4 separate regions of the Homo sapiens genome follow, and regions 1, 2 and 4 are each linked to region 3. Evidence: promoter capture Hi-C in human tissues and cell types (Jung and others, 2019). All regions are on one chromosome and are shown on one strand. Each heading gives the region's core, a stretch centred on a gene start or on the middle of the fragment in contact. The rest is flanking DNA. Distances are from core to core; before and after follow the strand shown.

Region 1 (2,700 bases), core at 91-2,590, 1.3 Mb after region 3:
CATGGTAAAACCCCGTCTCTACTAAAAATACAAAAAATTAGCCAGGCATGGTGGCACGCATCTGTAGTCCCAGCTACTCAGAAGGTTGAGGCAGGAGAATCACTTGAACCCCGGAGGCAGAGGTTGAAGTGAGCCAAGATCACACCACTGCACTCCAGCCTGAGCCTTTTTGAGACACAGTGAGACTCTGTCTCAAACAAAGAAAAAAAAAAAGAAAGAAAAAAGAAAAAAAAGAAAAGGCACAGAACCTAGAATAGCTACAACTACCTTGACGAAGAAAAAGTGGGAGGAATTATTCTACTCAATATTAAGGCCTACAATAATCAATACTGATAGAGTAATATTGACAGAGGAAGAGACATAGAGATCAATGGAAAAGAACAAGGGATCCAGAGATAGATCCACAGATGTACAGACAACTGATTTTTGACAAAGTTTCAAAAGTAATTCAATGAAGGAATAACAAATGATGTTGGGGCCATTGGACATCCATGGGTAAAAAATGAGCTGCTTGCCTGCCCAAGCTGGGTGGGAGGGTAAATTCAAGTCTTCTTTCCTTTTAATCAGATCAGAGGGAGGCCTCTGATCTCCCTAGGCATGTGTAAAATTCAGGCCTGATTAAAAAACCACCAGGTCCTGAAGGAGAAGTTCTCACACAATTTCTAAGCCTTGAAAGAACAACTGCCATTTTGGTTGTGGCAAAAGACAGCCTACCATCTCATCCGACACAGAAAGGGTACAGCAGAATGGAACACAATAGGTTTATATTTCTTAGCAAATCACAGTTTGCTCACTGAGGAGCACAAATTGCTGGAAGAGGCAAGACATGCCACAATGACCTAATAAAGAGGGCTACATGGAGGAAGCTATGGCTGAAAGGCATAGGAGGGAGACAGGGCCTCTGATCAGGAGGCAGAGCCATACCTCAGCTTTCACCGCCCATTTCCACGGAGATGACTCCTGGTGATCACATTTTTTTCCCCTTTGTGTATTTTACTAAGAGCTGGACTAAGCGCTAAGCACTCTATGTGCTGACATCTCATTCCATTCTCAGAAAAACCCTGAGGTAGTACTATTGTGTCCCTCATTTCACAGTAATCAAAAAACAAAACAAAACACAACACATATCCCCTCCCTCACACACAAACCCCTCAAACAAATGTACTTAAAAAACAAATAGAGACAGGATCACAATTCTCTTTCAGTATTGCTGAACAGACGGAATGCTCTAATGAGCATGAATGGCCAGTATAATTCCTAGGTTCTTCCACAGGTTTTGTCAATTTCTCTCCCAGTGGAAGTCCAGAGTGAAGAAGTCAAGAGACCACACTCCAAATGTCCCTCCCTTACCCACTAAGAGGGGCCAGGGTGTCAGGGAGTGTGCAACACCCAGAGGCGCGGCATTCTGCCGGCCAGGCCTGGCTCACTTCCCCCTTTCCTCAGAGGCGCAGCATTCTGCCGGCCAGGCCTGGCTCACTTCCCCTTCCCTCCCTTTGTCTATTGCATGCAGAAGACACCCAAACCCTGCCCTCAAGGAGATCACAGGCAAGGAGGGAAGACCAACCCTAAGAAGGTAAATGTAAAATATCTGATGGATTAAATGCTTAAAAAATGATGTTTTGATCCAGGGCAACACAGCAAAGACCTCATCTCTACAAAAAATAAAAAACTGGCTGGGCATGGTGGCACATGCCTGTAGACCCAATTATTTGGGAGGCTCAGGTGGGAGGGTCACTTGAGCCCAGTAGGTTGAGGCTGCTTGGCCTGTTTATAAGTGAGCTGATTGTGCCACTGTACTCCAGCCTGCCTGGGCAACAGAGGGAAACCTGACTCCAAAAAAAACATTTTACTAAAATGTTTTGAAGCTGTAAGCCTGGGGGCCAGAGGAAGCTTCTCTAAGGAACTGACGTTTAAATCGGTAACCAAAAGATAAACAGGAGTTGGCTACGTGAGGTCAGGGAGAGCACTTTAGACAGAGGGAAGAGGTCTGAAGAGGGCAGAAGAATGACACTGTGGCTGAAGCACAGGGATGCGGGGAAGGCAGTACAAGGTGAGATTGAAGGGGTGAATGCTTTAAGGCCTCATCAAGGATTGTGCTCTTTATCCTAACAGCAATGAGTATTCCCTAAAGACTTTTAACTGTGGTAAAATATGCATAAAATTTACCATCTTAACCATTTTTAAGTGTTCAGTACTGTTAAGTACATTAACACTGTTGTGCAATCACCTACCATCCATCTCCAGATCTCTTTTCATTTTGCAAAACAAACTCTGTACCCATTAATCACTAACTCCCCTTCCTATTCCCCTCTTGCCCCAGTATCTGGCAACCACCATCCACTGTCTGTCTCTACAAATTTGACTAATCTAGGTACTTTTAATAGAATCACACAGAATTTGTCCTTTTGTGAATGGCTTATTTAATTTAGTATAATGTCTTCAAGGTTCATCCATGTTGTAGCACGGGCCAGAATTTCCTTCCTTTTTAAAGCCGAATAATATTCTACTGTATTTACATACCAAATTTTGTTCATCCATTCATCTTATCAATGGACAGCCAAGCTGCTTTCACCTTTTGGCTACTGTGAATAATGCTTCTACGAACATGGGTGTACAAATATCTTTTCAAGACCTACTTTCAATTCTTTTGGGTATATGCCCGGAAGTGGACATGCAGGATTATACGGTAATTTTTTGAAG
Region 2 (2,700 bases), core at 72-2,571, 1.0 Mb after region 3:
GCCTCCCAAGTAGCTAAGATTACAAGCACGCACCACCACGCCCAGCTAATTTTTGTATTTTTAATAGAGAGGGGGTTTCACCATGTTGGCCAGCCTGGTCTCAAAGTCCTGACCTCAGGTAGTCCACCCGCCTCAGCCCCCCAAAGTGCTGAAATTACAGGCATGAGCAACCGCGCCCAGCCCATGAATACTATTTATTGAGTATTTTTCTGTACCACATTATTAACTACATATTTCTCATGAATCATCCCATTTAATCCTCAGGCAAGCCCTATAAGACAGGTACCATTTTTAATTCTATTTTAGATATGAGGGTGAGAGAGGTTAAGCAACATGCCTATTCCACCTAGCCAGCATGTGCAAGTCCACAATTTTATGATAAATTTACCTTAGTTTTTTCTTTTTTTTTTTTTTTTTTTTTTGAGACGGAGTCTTATTCTGTCACCCAGGCTGGAGTGCAGTGTCATGATCTCAGCTCACTGCAACCTCCATCTCCCAGGTTCAGGCAGTTCTCCAGCCTCAGCCTCCTGAGTAGTTGGGATTACAGGCATGTGCCACCACACCCAGCTGATTTTTGTATTTTTTAGTAGAGATGGGGTTTTGCCATGTTGCCCAAGCTAGTCTCAAACTCCCGACCTCAGGTGATCCGCCCACCTCGGCCTCCCAGAGTGCCGGGATTACAGGTGTGAGCCACCGTGCCTGGCGATAAATTTGACCTTAGTATGTTTATTTCGGAGCTTGTACTCTTAATCACTCTGCATATTGCCTCCCTTAACATTTACTTGTGCATAAAGTGTTGAATAATATCCAACTTAGGCTTGAATGTTGAATGTTTCCAGCTTAGGGTTTCCTGGAATGATGAATACTAGCATCTTATTCATAATGATCTGATCATAACATCTATGCAAATTTTAGTTATTCCTACTTCAGGATGGTATTCAAAGTCTTCATCGTATGTGGCCAATCTTTGATGAGTTGGTAAAATCTATATAATATAACCTGTTCATTTTTCAGGTATGTGAGCACATAATTATGTTTCTTTAGGATACTGCTTGCTATGGTTGCGGATTTTCTAACTTGCTTTCTCTGTTTTTTTTAGAACATTTTTGTGGGTATGAGAAATTGATGAATATTGTTATTCATGTTCTCAAAGAAAAAATATGCTGATTGGATCACCTCTTCTTTCCTTCCTTCCTTCCAATTGCACCAACTTCCCTGATGGGCATGGCTCCCTTCACTGTCGGGTTGGATTCTCATTACTGTCTTTTGGAGATGCCTGGGATGCACTGCATTGTACAGACAACTGCCTTCATCTTTGGAATGAGTTTTAAGTTGTCTTGTAATAGCTCTTTTGGCTTCACTGATAGAAGGACCCAGATAAGAATACAGTTTTTTCGCATTGTATTTATTAGTGTTCTAAAATATCTTTTTCTTGAAGAGTCTTATGATCAAGCACCCTGTATTTTAGGAAATTCAGCTGTTGTAAATCTACTTTTTTTAAAGTTCTTATTACAGCATGTAACAAATTACAAAAACATGTAATTTGTAAAAAAAAAAAAAAAATCCTAGGAGACTTAAACAAAAACAATCACCAGCTACCTGAAAACTCAGAAAAATTTGGCCTTGTGCCCCCCAGTTGAGTCAGTTAATGAAGAGATTTTGAATAATGACCATGAGGGCAAACTGCCCAAATCAGGTTCTCAGCTCTGCCATTTATTAGCTCTGAGACCCTGGGCAACCCAACAGCCCCTCTGGGCCTCCTTTTCTTCATCTGCAAAATGGGTATGTCAGTATAACTGATACAGAATAGGTGAGCCCCAAAATTGGTGCTTATCCCAGAAGGGTCCTTAGCTTTTAAGGACAAGCCAGTGGAATTGGCAATCTTTTGTTGAACAGTACTGCTCTTTGTAGAGCAAGGATAACTCCTAGGCAGTGCACTTCAGTCAGCAACATATGGGCTCCTGGCAACTGTATACTCACATAAACCCATTTTTAATTACATGCAAATTAAGGGGCAAGCCAATGCAAACTGAGGGACAGGTTATTTAGAACTTCCTAGGAAAGGGGTGGTAACTTCCAGGTAATTACCATGACATTTGTAAACTGTCATGGTGCTTGTGGGAGTGTCATATGCTAATGAGCAATGAGGGCAGCTAGGGATCACTTTCCTCACCATCTGCTGGTTCCTGCGGTTTCTTCACTTTGTGTAGACCACATCCTGTTTTGGTCAGCAGGGTTGTGACCAGAAAATAAGTTCTGCCAGACTGCTGCCTCATAAGAGTTGTTATACATTTGGCCATATGAGTGAGTATTAACTGTTAACCATTTTCTAATTCATTTAATTTTTAAAATTATCATACAGTAAAATTAACTATGTTGTATATAATTATACAGATTTCAGCACACGTATAGATTCATGTAACCACCACTACAATCAGGACACAAAACAATTCCATCATCCCAGAACCTCCCTCATGCAATGCCTTGATAGTCACACTACCCCTCAAACCCAATCCCTGACAGCCACTGATCTCTTCTTCATCATTGTGGTTTTGTCTTTTCCAGAACATCATGTAAATGGAAGCATACAGCATTTAACCTTTGGAGACTGGCCTCTTAGCATAATTCCTCTGAGATTCATCTGGAGGAACAATTTTCATATGTTGTGCTTATGGAAAGTTCATTGTTTTTTCATTGCCA
Region 3 (2,700 bases), core at 105-2,604:
ATTTGCTGATGAATTTGATTATTCGATGGCAGAGAAAGAGAAGAATGAAATATGCTTCAAATTTGTCATTTTCTTTTTTTTCTTTTTTAATCCAAGAAACTTCGGGGATGGGGAACACTGGTGAAGTGGTTTTAGAAACAGTGAATAGAATCAAGAATTCAGTTTTCAACATGTTAAATTTGGTATACCTATTAGACATTCACATCACGCTGGCAGCTGGATATAAAGGGCCAAGAGTTAAATGAAGAGACCAAGGTTAGAGGAACAAACTTGAAAGCCTTGGGTGTATATGCTGTATTTAAAAGTCATAGGAAGGGCCCAGTGTGATGGTTCACGCCTGTAATTCCAGCACTTTGGGAGGCCAAAGTGGGTGGATCAGGAGTTCGAGACCAGGAGTTGAGGTCAGGAGTTCGAGACCAGCCTGGCCAACATGGCAAAACCCCGTCTCTACTAAAAATACAAAAATTAGCCGAGTGTGGTGGCACAGGCCTGTATTCCCAGCTACTCGGGAGGCTGAGGCAGGAGAATCGCTTGAACCGGGGAGGCAGAGGTTGCAGTGAGCCGAGATTGTGCCACTGCACTCCAGCCTTGGTGACAGACTGAGACTCTGTCTCAAAAGAAAAAAAAAAGTCATAGAAAAAAAATAAATGTCATACGACTGGATGCGATTATCAGCAAATATGGGTAGAGCCCTTATTTTGTGCTAAAGTGTTCTAGGCACTACAGCAATGAGTAATACACAAAGAGAAAAATTCACACCCTTATGGATCTTACATTCTAATGGGGAGGGGATAATAAAATAACTAACAAAAATATACAGCGTGTTAGATAGCAAGAGGGAAATACAGGAGAGATGAGGATGAGGTGGGTGGGAAGGTTACAGGATGGCTAGGGAAATCCTCACTGGGAAAATGTTATTTAAGCTTAAACCTTGAAAGAGGTGAGGGCAGCAGCCTTCTGGTATACCTTGGGGACTACCATTCCAGGCAGAGGCGAAAGCAAATGCAGAGGGGCTGAAAAAGGAGCACGTCCAGCCAGTGGAGGGAAAAGCAAGAATAGTGACTGTAGAGGAGAGAGCCGGGGAGGGTGATGGGAAATGAGGACCGAGAGGTTAATGGGAAAGGCGGGGTGAAGAGAAATGAGTGTGACACAGAGCAGCTCTCAGTACGGATTTAAGCTAGGAAGGTGTCCAAACAGGAACTTAAGGCTCTCCTTACGTCAAAGCCGGATGTTAACGCCCAGTCCCCAGGCCCCGCCTCTGCTCGGCAGAAGCTCCGCTCCGGGGCCGGAACTCCAGGGCTAGTGAGCTGGACCGGAAGTAGGTTTCTACCCGACCGCATTTTACGTGGTGCTGCATTTCCGGTAGCGGCGGCGGGAAATCGGCTGTGGGAGAGAGGCTAGGCCTCTGAGGAGGCGAATCCGGCGGGTATCAGAGCCATCAGAACCGCCACCATGGTAAGGAGGGCACAGGCTGGCGGCGCGGGAGCTTCCGAGTCTGTTGTGGAGTGGGAACCGCGACTGATCGGGGAGGAAGCCGTGGGTTGGAGCCACTTAGGGCGGTGAAGGCCTGGGCCGAGGCCGCTCGGTCTGGGCGGGAAAGACCAGGACCTTGGCGGTTCGGCTAGGCATGGGGTCGAGGAAAAGGTTGGAACCGGTGTCGGAGGCCGAGGTCGCTCGGCAGGGGCGAGGGTAGAACCGCGGCTCTCGACACCGCTGTAGCCATAATTCCTGGGACCCAGTAGGCACTAAGTTAACTTTTGCCGAATAAATATATGTCCCGGGCTTCGGAGCAGGCACTGGAGCCGCAGGGGGACCCGGTAAAAGGCTCAGACTTGCGGAAGTTTGTGAGTCTGAGAAAGAGTTGGCGGAAGTGGGTGGAAGGGGCTCGTGGACCACGCTAGAGTCTCGCTAGGTCTGCTGGATGGAGAGGAGGGCGGAGGAGGGTGATGGCGAATGGAGGAAGAGCTCCACTCAGTTGCTCATCACGTTTCCGTGTTTGCCTGTGCCTGACTTCTCAGGCGCTGGGGCTACTCTCTGAAATATGTTTGCTTCCTTCACAGAGGTAGCTGGGGACACATAATATAATTCAGTGTGGTCATTCGGTAAAAGTAACGGCAGCGGGGCGGGGTAAGAATGTTTTCTCAAATAGATGGTTCCTGAGCAGATTCCTAAAAGATTAGCAAGAATGTTCCCGGCGAAAATGGGGGGAATATTACAGACCCGGAGAACTGAAGGAACAAAGGCTGAAGGGTAACAAGATTTAAAAAGTTACTGGATTTTTCTGCGTTTGTTGACTGAGAAAAAGTTGCTGGAGGAGAAAGGAAGAAAGAAGGGAAGACGGGAAGAATTGGCAGGAGGCTAGTTACTAAAGGCCTTGCATGTTAATTTTACCTCAGTGGTGGTGAGGCATGTCATTGAAGGATTTAATTTAATTTATTTTTATTTTTTTGAGACGGAGTTTTGCTTTTGTTGCCCAGGCTGGAGTGCGGTGGATCGATCAGGGTTCACTGCAAACTCCACCTCCCGGGTTCAAGCGATTCTCCTGCCTCAGCCTCCCAAGTAGCTGGGATTGTAGGTACCCGCCACCACACTTGGCTAATTTTTTGTATTTTTAGTAGAGACGGGGTTTCACCATGTTGGCCAGACTGGTCTCGAACTCCTGACCTCAGTTAATCCACCCACCTTGGCCTCCCAAAGTGC
Region 4 (2,700 bases), core at 70-2,569, 1.2 Mb after region 3:
AAGAACATGCATGCAAAAGAATTCCGAAGTGTTATATAAATTTATAATGTGTTATACAAATGATAGGCCTTTTTAAAATTGATGTTAACATAAATGGCTCCAGTGGAAAGGGCAATTAGTCTATATTTGCAGAGACAAAAAAATCCACAGGACTTTGGGAGGCTTCAAATACAATGAAAATGATCAGCCTATCAGTCTTCTTCTACTTAAAGGTACTATAGTGTTGGTGTTGACTATAAACAACTCCAGTTTCAGTGTCAGGGGATTATGACTATGTAAACAACTCCCAATTTCTTTGCACAGATTAAAAAGATGTCGGATTCACCACATGACATCTGTGTACCTACTGAAAATAACTGAGGTACAATAAAGTATTTTAATTATGGATGAAGATAACTCTTTTCATGAAGACTAGGATTTGGAATCAGAGTCCTAGAGTAGAAGTGTAATTTTTTAGTTAGAAATACTGCAGTGCGGCCAGGCGTGGTGGCTCACGCCTGTAATCCCAGCACTTTGGGAGGCCGAGGAGGGCAGATCGCTTGCAGTCAAGAGTTCGAGACCAGTCTGGCAAACATGGTGAAACCTTGTCTGTACTAAAAATACAAAAATTAGCTGGGCATGGTGGCACGCGCCTCTAATCCCAGCTATTCGGGAGGCTGAGGCAGAAGAATCGCTTGAAACCAGGAGGATGAGGTTGCAGTGAGCCGAGATCATGCCACTGCACTCTGGCCTGGGTGACAGTGATACCCTGTCACAAAAAAAGAAAAAAAGAAAAGAAGTACTGCAGTGAATACTGGCCAATGTCCCTATGAGAATCATACACGCTGGATAGTTGTGAAGCTTATTTAGAAATACCACATACAAGGTTTTGCTTGTCCATAACAGTCAACAAATTAATAAATTAAATACTTTGTCATACTTTATCTTAACCAAAGGCGTGGCCCAGGTTCAGTAACCTTTCAAAGATGGCATATCCAGCCTACATTTATTCCCTGCCTTGAGAGAAAAGATGAGAACTGGATGGCTTTTCCCCCCTGGGAGAGAATAAGGACAGTTTTTTCAATTTCAAGAATTATTTTGAAAAACCCTAAAGGGACAAATATGCAAGATTAAACATAAGCGTTTATTTGTGTTCCCTTCAGAAACCCTTCTGAAATGAAGGTAAAGGAAGAAAAAGTGACGAAGGAGATAAAGACAAAGAAAGTGGAAGACATAACTGACTTAGTAGAGTAGAGACAACTGAACCCTAAGTGCTGGCAGGGGGGAAGCCAGCAAAAAGCAAGCTGATTTGAGTGAGACACAGTACCTAGGAAAAGCTCAGGAATTGGAGACATCAGTGTGTCATAAACTGGGGAGAGGGATGAAGCTGAAAACAGGAGAATTCCTTGAGAATCTACTTAGGAACAGTAGCGGAGACCGCTACTCACACAGCAGAAGGCGTGAAGTTGCCCTTCTGGAGATAACAAGCATTGAGGCTTTGAACTTAGGGCACTAGTGCTGTGGATGGTGAAGTGTCATACCACAAACAGTGGGATTAAGGGAAATTCTACACTCTGAACAGTGAGATAACCAGCCTCTCCTTTACCTCCTTTTGGTTCCTGAGCCACTGGCATCATGCTTATATCTCCTAGGCAGTAGACTTAAAGATTATTCTGGAAAAGATGACTATTCTAAGGGAGAACAAAACCCAGTTATATAATACAATCTAGGGAAGGTGAGAGGTGCCACCCAATTACCTCAGTATAAAGACCATAAGTCTACAACCCCTACTCATGCGTATATAACTTCCAGTCAGTTTTTTGGTGTCTCTATCTTAAATAAAAGCAGATAATCCTAGGATCTACAAGACATTTGAGTAAAATCTCTAATATTAAAGAGCAAAAAGGAATACATTCAAGAAAATCACTAAGGAAAGATAATGCAGGGAGCAGAAGTGCAACCTCTGAAGTTAAGAAGTTTTTCATTGTACCCATGAAAAATGGCTAGGATAACAGTGAGAGGAAGCAGATCAGTGGTTGCTTGGGAATGGGGGTGCCAGTTGGAGGTATGCAAATGAGGGATTCAAAAGGGGCACAAGGAAAGTTTTTCTGGTTTGATATATGTTTACTCCTTGATTGTGGTGAAGGTTTTACAGTTGTACACATATGTCAAGACTTATATAATGCATACTTTAAATATAAATAGTTTACTGCATGTTAATCATATCTCAACAAAGCTGCTTTAGAAACCTAATTGAATAATTAAATAAAAATATTATGATGCTATAAAATAAAAGAATAGTTAGTAACCAAGAAAAAAAACTCCTGGAAAACAAAAAGGTGAAAGCAGATATAAAAATTCAGTAAAGTCTAGAAGACAAAGTTGAAGAAATCTAGAGGGTAGAAAAACACAAATACAAAGAAATTAATATAGAGGATAAAAGATGTTATTAAAATTAAAGGAGTAGTTCAGGAGATCCAACATCTGACCCACTGGCCCTTCAGGAAGACAAAACATAAATAAAAAGGAAACTGAGGCCAGGAGTTTGAAACCAGCCTGAGCAACACAGTGGGACCTTGACTCTATGAAAAACTTTAAAAAATAACAATAATAAGGAGAAAGTCCAAGAAATTTTTAAAAATTTTCTAAAACTCAGGAACATGAAATTTCTGTATAAAAGAACACACTACATGGTAAAGACAATAAGTGGAAAAAAAAAAA

Evidence for each region. Contacts are between HindIII fragments. The study calls those that stand out against the background at their distance.
Region 1: a contact is called between a fragment that was not itself captured here and the fragment with the promoter of SNRPB in region 3, in 1 of the 25 tissues and cell types used here (spleen).
Region 2: a contact is called between a fragment that was not itself captured here and the fragment with the promoter of SNRPB in region 3, in 1 of the 25 tissues and cell types used here (aorta).
Region 4: a fragment that was not itself captured here is called in contact with the fragment with the promoter of SNRPB in region 3 in 1 of the 25 tissues and cell types used here (bladder).

The regions. Positions count from the first base shown.
Region 1 is chr20:1,129,780-1,132,479 of GRCh38, reverse strand. The region is part of intron 3 of PSMF1 (proteasome inhibitor subunit 1); the gene reads right to left. Among named protein-coding and RNA genes, the nearest start is that of PSMF1, 13 kb to the right of the region's middle. The HindIII fragment of the contact is 3,650 bases long and covers 1-2,700 here.
Region 2 is chr20:1,434,562-1,437,261 of GRCh38, reverse strand. No RefSeq gene overlaps it. Among named protein-coding and RNA genes, the nearest start is that of NSFL1C, 31 kb to the left of the region's middle. The HindIII fragment of the contact is 5,217 bases long and covers 1-2,700 here.
Region 3 is chr20:2,469,443-2,472,142 of GRCh38, reverse strand. SNRPB (small nuclear ribonucleoprotein polypeptides B and B1) reads left to right here and starts at 1,354. Exons shown (of 7, transcript NM_003091.4): 1 at 1,354-1,455. The coding sequence starts at 1,453. RefSeq lists enhancers at 1,345-1,394, 1,405-1,454, 1,615-1,734. The HindIII fragment of the contact is 7,557 bases long and covers 1-2,700 here.
Region 4 is chr20:1,251,372-1,254,071 of GRCh38, reverse strand. The region is part of intron 13 of RAD21L1 (RAD21 cohesin complex component like 1); the gene reads right to left. Among named protein-coding and RNA genes, the nearest start is that of SNPH, 14 kb to the left of the region's middle. The HindIII fragment of the contact is 4,407 bases long and covers 1-2,700 here.